Regions from separate parts of the Homo sapiens genome. Here all the other regions are linked to region 3. Evidence: promoter capture Hi-C in 16 types of primary human blood cells and fetal thymus (Javierre and others, 2016). All regions are on one chromosome and are shown on one strand. Each heading gives the region's core, a stretch centred on a gene start or on the middle of the fragment in contact. The rest is flanking DNA. Distances are from core to core; before and after follow the strand shown. Region 1 overlaps SLC24A3 (solute carrier family 24 member 3). Region 2 overlaps SLC24A3 (solute carrier family 24 member 3). Region 3 holds the start of SLC24A3 (solute carrier family 24 member 3).

The links. Contacts are between HindIII fragments. The CHiCAGO score rates a contact against its expected background, and 5 or more counts as called.
Region 1: a fragment that was not itself captured here is called in contact with the fragment with the promoter of SLC24A3 in region 3 in 1 of 17 cell types (megakaryocytes); the score reaches 8.7 in megakaryocytes.
Region 2: a fragment that was not itself captured here is called in contact with the fragment with the promoter of SLC24A3 in region 3 in 4 of 17 cell types (M1 macrophages, M0 macrophages, megakaryocytes and 1 more); the score reaches 7.5 in M1 macrophages.

What each region holds. Positions count from the first base shown.
Region 1 is chr20:19,455,436-19,458,135 of GRCh38, reverse strand. The region is part of intron 2 of SLC24A3 (solute carrier family 24 member 3); the gene reads right to left. Among named protein-coding and RNA genes, the nearest start is that of SLC24A3-AS1, 170 kb to the right of the region's middle. The HindIII fragment of the contact is 451 bases long and covers 1,177-1,627 here.
Region 2 is chr20:19,427,466-19,430,165 of GRCh38, reverse strand. All of the region lies in intron 2 of SLC24A3 (solute carrier family 24 member 3), which reads right to left. Among named protein-coding and RNA genes, the nearest start is that of SLC24A3-AS1, 140 kb to the right of the region's middle. The HindIII fragment of the contact is 1,609 bases long and covers 629-2,237 here.
Region 3 is chr20:19,211,248-19,213,947 of GRCh38, reverse strand. SLC24A3 (solute carrier family 24 member 3) reads right to left here and starts at 1,306. Exons shown (of 17, transcript NM_020689.4): 1 at 964-1,306. The coding sequence starts at 1,105. It overlaps LOC101929547 (a long non-coding RNA gene), which reads left to right and starts at 1,480. Exons shown (of 3, transcript XR_007067549.1): 1 at 1,480-2,319. RefSeq lists a silencer at 906-955. The HindIII fragment of the contact is 7,870 bases long and covers 1-2,700 here.

The DNA.
Region 1 (2,700 bases), core at 153-2,652, 240 kb before region 3:
AGTCCAGAACACATTCTCAAGCAGAACTTCCAACTTACAAAGCACTGTAGCTCCCACCCTGCCCTGCCAACCTAGGCTTGCAGAAGTCATGGATGAAACAGTCATTATGAAACTGTAGAGTAAGTTTAACCTGAAATTTCTGGAGGAAAAAGGTGGGGAAGGAATTCATCAACGGTCCTCCAGATGCTCTGTGATTCACCTGGGGCCACCTAATCCCAAGGCTTTGCCACCTCTGAACCTCATAGCTGGAGCTGCCACTCTCGATTACCACAGGCTGAAGGTAATTCCTGCAGAAGCCACGTGTAGTTCTTTCTCTGGGGACTGCTCAGCTCTCACAGCTGACTCCCTCAACCTCTTCCAGATGGGATTCACAGCAGGCTAGAACCACAGATCCAGGGAATGTGAGTCCTCAAATGGAATTTGAGGTTGGGGCCTTGGTCCCATGAGTGATTTGTGGCTGTCAGGATGTACAGGATTTGCTTGGCTTCATAAGACAGCCCAGAGATCCAGTTTTAAGGCAGAACATTAGAAAGCTTCCACTACTGTACCACTTCTCAAATATTCCCAGCTAGTGAATGCTTCAGAGGCTAAAAAGCAGTGTTGACTTTGTCATTGGCATTTTTCTATTCAGTAGAATAAACCATCTAAATTGTAAAAATACTATTTTCTTTTATGGAATTCAATAAAGCATTTTCATCTTGAGTGAAAAGTAAGTAGACTATAAATAATTTTTGTTTTAGTCTGAATTTGTATCATGCAAAAAGAAAATGTTCCTTGAAAATGACCCAACCTAATTCCTTCATTTTAAAGTTACAGCTCAGGGTGGTAACATGATTTGCCCCAGGTTATGCAGCAAATGAGATGCAGAGCTGAAAGCAAGACTCTGCCCTCCTCCACATTTCCCCCCTCACCACAACTAGAAAGACTGGTCATAAAATATGAGACTCCACAGTTGATGGATCTGGGATTACGCCATTAGGGTTTCCCTTTACATCCCAGGCCACAGGTCAGTAAGTACTACATTATTCATTTTTTTCTTGGGTCCAGACATTTTTCTGGATGCCCTTTGCAGTTTTTCTTTTTATAGCATCAGATAGCTCACGGAGGAGCCATGTCTGGCACATGCCTCCTCTTATATTAATCCCAAGAGAAAGCTCAGGCTCTAATATTTAAGCTTCCAAGTCATTAACAGAGATTCTGGACAAAGTCACAGTATCATCTTTTATCTCTGTGAACACACTGTACACTGTACCTGCCAGACTGAGTACTGGGGAGTGTAATAAGCCCAGGGTGGTGACTGGTGTGTTGCACTGACTCCCAGGTCAAAGCTGTCCCAAGGCAGGAAGTCACCACCCACAATCACTTCCTTGCCCTGTTAGCCTGTCTTGCCCAATGACTAGGGTTTGGGATTCATGAGTTGACAGTGGATGTCTGAGCCATTGCTAGCTGTAGAGGGGCAGTGAAGTGACAGCCTGGTTACTGACATCCTGGCCATCTCACAGCAATGTGGAAAGATTTAAAGAATGGGTTGTGTATTAGTCCATTTTCACGCTGCCAATAAAGACTGGGCAATTTACAAAATGAAGAGGTTTAATTGGACTTACAGTTCCACATGGCTGGGGAAGCTTCACAATCCTGGTGGAAGGCAAGGAGGAGCAAGTCCCGTCTTACATGGATGGCAGCAGGCAAAGAGAAAATGAGGAACACGCAAAAGCAGAAACCCCTGATAAAACCATCAGATCTCATGAGACTTATTCACTACCACGAGAACAGTATGGGGGAAACTGCCCCCACGATTCAATTATCTCTCCCCAGGTCCCTCCCACAACACATGGGAATTATGGGAATACAATTCAAGATGAGATTTTGGTGGAGACATAGCCAAACCATATCTGGTTGTATGTCTCCTCCTGGAAGGAATAAAAGGTCTTTCTCTTGCCATAAGTGTTCCTCCAAAGGCTACCCTAACTGTGGGGCCCAAATCTCTTTTTCTAAAGGGTCTTTCCTTCAACTTTAAGAAACGTGTTACAGATACAGATGGAAAAAAAAAGGGCAAACATAGGACTTGTGGAGATTTCACTGCCTGGCAGCACAGAGGACTTCCTGGGTGGGATGTACTTACCTTACCTTCCCCAGTACATTATAAACTCATAGCTCATTCATCTATGTCAAAATATCCAACACAGGGTGCAGTTCCTTGTACACAATAGTCGCCTAATAAACGTTACTTAAGGAACCAATTATATATTATACTGACACTTATAATTTTAGCCTCTCAACCAAGTAGTTCTAATTATTTAGCCTCCATCTTCATTTGACTTCCCCCAGAAGGCGACTGTGAAATTAGGGGGGTGATCCGAGGAAGCACCAGTAAGGGAGTGAGGAAGTGAGACAGAGCCCCGAAGGTGGCCCAAACATTCATGAGCATATTACCTCCATCAGCTAGGGCTTGATCCTCCTGGGGATGCTCTGAGAGAGGATGCTGAATTACCTTTTATTGCTCCATGAAGAGGTGAAGAGGCTGGGGTTTATCTACTATACTCTTATCTCTCGCTGATTAAAGATTGCTCCTGGTGTATTGGTTTCCAGACATTCTCGGCTCTCTCTATGTTTATGCTGAGCATACTTCCATGGTTAAAGGATACCATGAGGGAGACAGATGCAAGAATCTGTTTACATACATTTATGAAAAGTATCTAC
Region 2 (2,700 bases), core at 184-2,683, 220 kb before region 3:
CCCCAGCAAGAGCCAAATCTTAGCTCAAAGAAAGACATAGTATTAGGGTGGGGTCGGGGGCTGGGGAAGAAAGATCAAACCAAATCCCTTCCTCCTTCCTTCCCTCTCCCCCTTGGGACTCAGTTCCCAGCGGCTTCCCCAGAGATGCCTTTGTGCAGCCCCTAGGGTGGCTACCTCCCCACCCTTCACCCTATTAAATCACAGCCCAGGCCCTCCTCTTTTTTTCTCAGCTGTGCAGACAGGCTTTCCCACTGTAGCTCGAGATTAAAAATGAGAGATTTATTGTGAGGAAATTCTCCCTGCTTTAGGGTGACATAACTCCAAATCAAATGAGGAGAGCATAATCAGCAACACTGAAGATGCCTTTTATGGGTCAGTTAGAAATAAAAATGGGACAACTGAACTCCTGCTACCCTAGGAGCACAGATTTATGGCCCTCTCGGATGACCATATATAGAGTCGGCCGGCCCAGAACATTATTTATTTAGCAGATCATCAGGGCTTCGAAGATAATCCTGGAAGAACCTCATTGTCAAGTAGATGAAGCAGTCTATTAAAATGACACAGTAAATTCAAGTCTAACTCTCATCGTCTTCCACATAAATATGTGTCCTTCCCGGGCTAAGCTTAACTCAAGAAAGAACAGTGTCTCCTGAATGAGGGGTAGATACAAAGTATTAGAGATAGTGCGTGTATTACCTCTGCATTTACTCACACGCTTTCCATAGGCTTCTTTCAAGGCTTTGCACCATAAAAATGAGAGTTTCAGCATTATGCTGCAATGCTGCCTGGATAATCCTGAACCAAAGGTGTAATTCTCTTTTCTCAGAAATAATTAGGTTGAGCATACAAAAATGACATGCCAGAAGTGATCAAATATCAGCAGCCTCCTCTGGGTCAACCCAATACATCAATTCTTTTCTCAATGATAACAGAGGTAAAGGTGAGAATAGTGGAGGATGGTTGAGTGAACAGTGAGGATAGTTGAGTTGCTTGCTTTTGTTTTGTTAAACACAGTTCATACCTCTTTTGCATTTAGTAACCTTCAGAGAAATGAAAGTTTCTGGCTGCTAATAGTGTACAGAGGGGAAATTATTTCTGATTTCTAAAAAATAGCATTATATTTCTGTTTTAAATTCCTGGGCAGAAACACTGGAGGGGGAGGGAAGAACCTAAAGATGGAAAGAAGGCATCCCATGCTTGCTGTAGCTGACAAAACCACAATTCACAACTTGTCTATTACACATTTGCCATATCCCCAACTTGCAAGTAAGGATATCGATACTGATAAAGACAGTTTATGTTTGTAGACTGCATTACTTGCATAAAGCCTCTTCACACCCACCTCCTGGGCAGGGCAGGTTAAATAGCTACAATTTTAGAGAAAAGGAAGGTGTAGATAAGGAAGCTGCAACGTACCCAACACCACGTGGCCAAGAAGTGATGGAATCTGGAGTGGGTAAGAACTCGGAACTACAATCTAGGGCTGCTTCTCTTCTGCCTCCCCGATGAGGATTAAGGATGGTCCATGCCATATCCTGCCCACTCAAAGGAGAGAACTCACATGAGCAATTACACTGTAGCTTACTTTGCTCAGTGGCTCTGGCAGTTTTATCATTTTGGGGAAAATAATGTCTGTTGCAAGTACCAGTGGTTAGACACCAACATGCAAATGTGGAACTTCCTCCACATCCTTGTTCCCATTTTAGAATTTCGCAGCCCTTGCTGACAGTGCCCTGAACTCCAGTCAGACATTTATTTTTGAGAAGTCCCTCAGAGTCTAATGACTCCTACTTAACACACAGTATTAACACGGTGTCGATTGAGTGCTGTGTCCAAGCTCAGTGAATGTTTAAGCTAGCAAACAATAAGCACACTGATTGAATTGTACTGGTGTGAAATGAGCTGGTTGAGGCAAACCAGAAGGTAACAGAAGTAGAAGCTGACGGCCACCCGTGAAGGGAACAAACAGCAACTGCAATACCCACAACCAGACCGGGCTCATGCTGCTGCTACTGCATGGAGAGACGGCTGAGGAATGTGCACGAGACACAGTGCAAGGTGGCAAGAACATATTTTCAAAAGACTGCACTGAAATAAGTCCAAACCAAACGTTGGACTTCCAATTATCTGAGTAATTCAAATATGAGGAGCACAGCAACGCAAGATCCCTGATGTGTTACTGCAAATGTGCTGTTTTGTTATATGTGTGTGGACAGCAGAATTATTGATAAGCTTCTAAAACTGTGGATTAATCCACTGATATTAAAGTTGTGCATGAATACACAGAGCGAAACATAAACTATCCTCTGGAAATGAAGAGCCTGTTCCCTGACGGGAGATAAAAGCCCCTTTCCAGACAACCTCTACAGGTCCCACTGGTTCCCACTGCCTGGAGTCCCTCCTCCCAGCCTCCAGCAAATACTTTTTTCCAGGAGAGATCTTTATCCTCTCTGGGTCAGCCCAGGACAGGCCTGGGAGGAGGACAAGTCGGAGGGCGGGGCCTGTAATAGGCAGAGGCACGGCAGTGGGAATGGACTCCGGGTTCCCGATAGCAGCTTGTTTCACAGGGAGCGTCTTCACACCTCATTTTTGGGGCCAAGGCTGCATCCACCTACCTTTTCCCCCAGCCCCCAGTGGAACACTAAAGCGCAAATGGTATTTGAAAAGTCAAGAAACATAAAATCGATTTCTTTCTAA
Region 3 (2,700 bases), core at 57-2,556:
TTGTTTTGTTTCTTTCTCACAACCCTTTACATGGCTGTTTTCCCACTAATCGTGCCACTTCCACGGCCGGGATATAAAACCATTTTACAACAGTTATTCTCCCATGTTTTTCCTTCATTTTATAGACAGCTGAATCCCAGGATCGAAGCTGTTTCAGCAGACAACTGTTGGGAGCACACAAGATCTATTTCAGCTCAAGAAAGGCCAAGGACAAAGACAAGACAAAAGTTGTGGGTTAAAGGGCAGACTTTGCGCAGAGCACCGGTAGAGGAGCGGACAGTGTGATGCGTGGTCCACTGCAAACCATTTCTTCCACAGCAGCAGCTCTGCAAAAGGGACCTCTGAGGAAGAATTCCCTGTCTTCCCAGTGAGTGGTCATTTTAGGAGAACAAGTCCCCTACTAGCCCATAGCTGGAGGGCCAACACTTTTTCTCTCCCTGAAGTTCCCGGCACCTGTTCTGAAAGGGGGTTGAAGAGCTCTCTACTCGGGCCATCCCGCCTGCTCTCTGGATGGAGAACATACGGACAACTGTGTGTTAAGCAGTCCCCTTGAATCCTTCAGCAAGCCAAGGAGTATACAGGTGGTCACCTGCACAGGTGCCGGGTCTACCACCACAACTTTATCCCTGGCCTTGGGGGCTGATGGAGAGTAAGACTCCCCACCACCGCCACCAGCAGTACCTCCAGCTCGCGAGTAAGCAGCGCACAGGCGGGCACAGGTAAATGTTCCCAGGGCGGCCAGACGCCTAAGCCTGCTGGCTGCTGGCGCTCAGGGTCCCCACCTCCATGCCTCTGCGTGGGGCAGGGGGAGTCCTCGTGCCTGGCATCCCACTCCCCCCGCCAACCCAGCCCGCTTATCCTGGGGCTCCGGCCGGGCCGCCCGAAGGAGCCCCGCGCCCAGCCCCGGGAGCCCCGAGCCGCCGGAGCCGCAGCGCCCACTCGGGGCAGGCAGCGTGCACTCACCCTTCTGCTCTCGCAGGCTCGACAGCGACCAGAGCAGCAGCGCCACCGAGGCCAGGAAGCAGAGCTGGCTCAGCAGAAGGTCCCTCCGGCGGCGGCGGCGGCGGCGGCGACGCGCGCGGTCCTCGTCGCCGGACGGCCGCATCCTCGGGCGGCCGGGCGGCGGCCTCGGCGGGCGGCGGCCGCTCCTGTCGCGGGCGGCCGCGGCGGGGACAGCGGCAGGAGGCAGCCCTGCGCGCAGCAGCCGCGCGTCCTCGCTGCGCTCCCACCCGGCCGCCGCCTCCGCCTCCTCTTCCTCCTCCTCGCCGCTGCCCGTCTCCTCGTCGTCGCCCTCCTCGTCGCTATCGCCCAGTCCCTCCTCCCCTCCCTCCTCCTCCTCCTCGCCGCTCGCCCGCGCCGCCGCCTCCCGGCGCTCGGGGTCCCGCTCCTCCTCGCGCGCCATGGCTCCCACGCTCCGCGCCCGCGCTCGGCCTGGGGCGGCGGCGCGGCGGGGGCGGCGGGGGCGGCCGGGAGGCGGGGGCGGAGGGGGCAGAGGAGGAGGAGCGGGGAAGGACCGACGGTAGGAGGGCCCGCCGCTGGCCAACTCCGCCGGTTGGCAAAGCCACCCCGGACTGGCTCTGGCCTCGCCGGCTGCAGGAGCGCCTCGCGGGGCCGCCCGCCTATTCCATGGTCGGCGCGATGGGGGCCGGGGCCGGGCCGGAGCGAACAGGGAGCACCGAGCGAGCTGGGAGCATGAGCTAGCGCAGCTCCCGGCAGCCTGCAGCGGCGAGGCTGGTCGGGCCAGGGTTGGCGGGGGGCAGTGCCTGGGACACAGCCCGGCGCTGGCCGGCATGGCGGGGAGGGGGCGCGCTGGGAGGAGACTGGGCTGGGGAGGGATCCCTGTGTGCAGTCCTTCAACCCTTCTGTGCCAGGGGAAGAGGGACGGCGCAGGGGGCCCCCTCTCGGGAAGCACACACGCTGCCTCCCAGAGGCCGATCTTCACCAAGAAGGATTCGCTGGAAACTTTCGGAAAACCGAGGGGCTCTTCAGCCTCCTCTCTACGTGCTACCTGGAGTCGGGGCGCCGCGAGTGCGCTTGGCTGCCCGCGCCCAGCCTCTGGCCTCGCCTCTTCTCGCGGGCCTCCCGGGTTTCCCTCTGCCCCCTTGCGGGGATCCCCCTGTGCGCCCGACTCGGGATCTGGAACAGGCCTCCCCAGAGGCTGTTAGTTCCATAAGGGTGTCCGGCTCCCCCCTCTGTCTTGGGCTCACACTTCGCTTTCTGTTCGTGCTGGACCAAGTCCAATACTGTGGCTGATCGAAGTGGGGACAGCTGGCACGGTCCCTGGAGAGGCGGCCTGAAGAGGCTTCTGGCCTTGTGCAGGTAACACCAGCCTGCCCTACCTCCAACGTTAGAATCTTAGTCCTCCCATTTCCCCCATTCTAGGTCTCCTGCCCCTCCTTGCTGAAGGTGTGGGCTGCCCTAGAGATGGCTGGACTCACGACCTGCCGCAGGTGCCCATTTGGAGGGGATCCCTGGCCATCCCAGACACAGCCCACTCTCCCTCATTGGGCTTCCCTGGACTCTTCCCAGATGCTAGCCTGGGGCTGCTGGCTGGGCTGAGGAGGAGATGCCATTGTTGGGGCGGAGGGTGGGGGGGCGCTGAAAACAAAAGACCTTGTCCAGAAAGGGATCACCTGAAACCAGGTGTCTGTCTAGGTGACTGTCTCCATGGAATCCATTCAGATCAGGGAATCTAGCTTC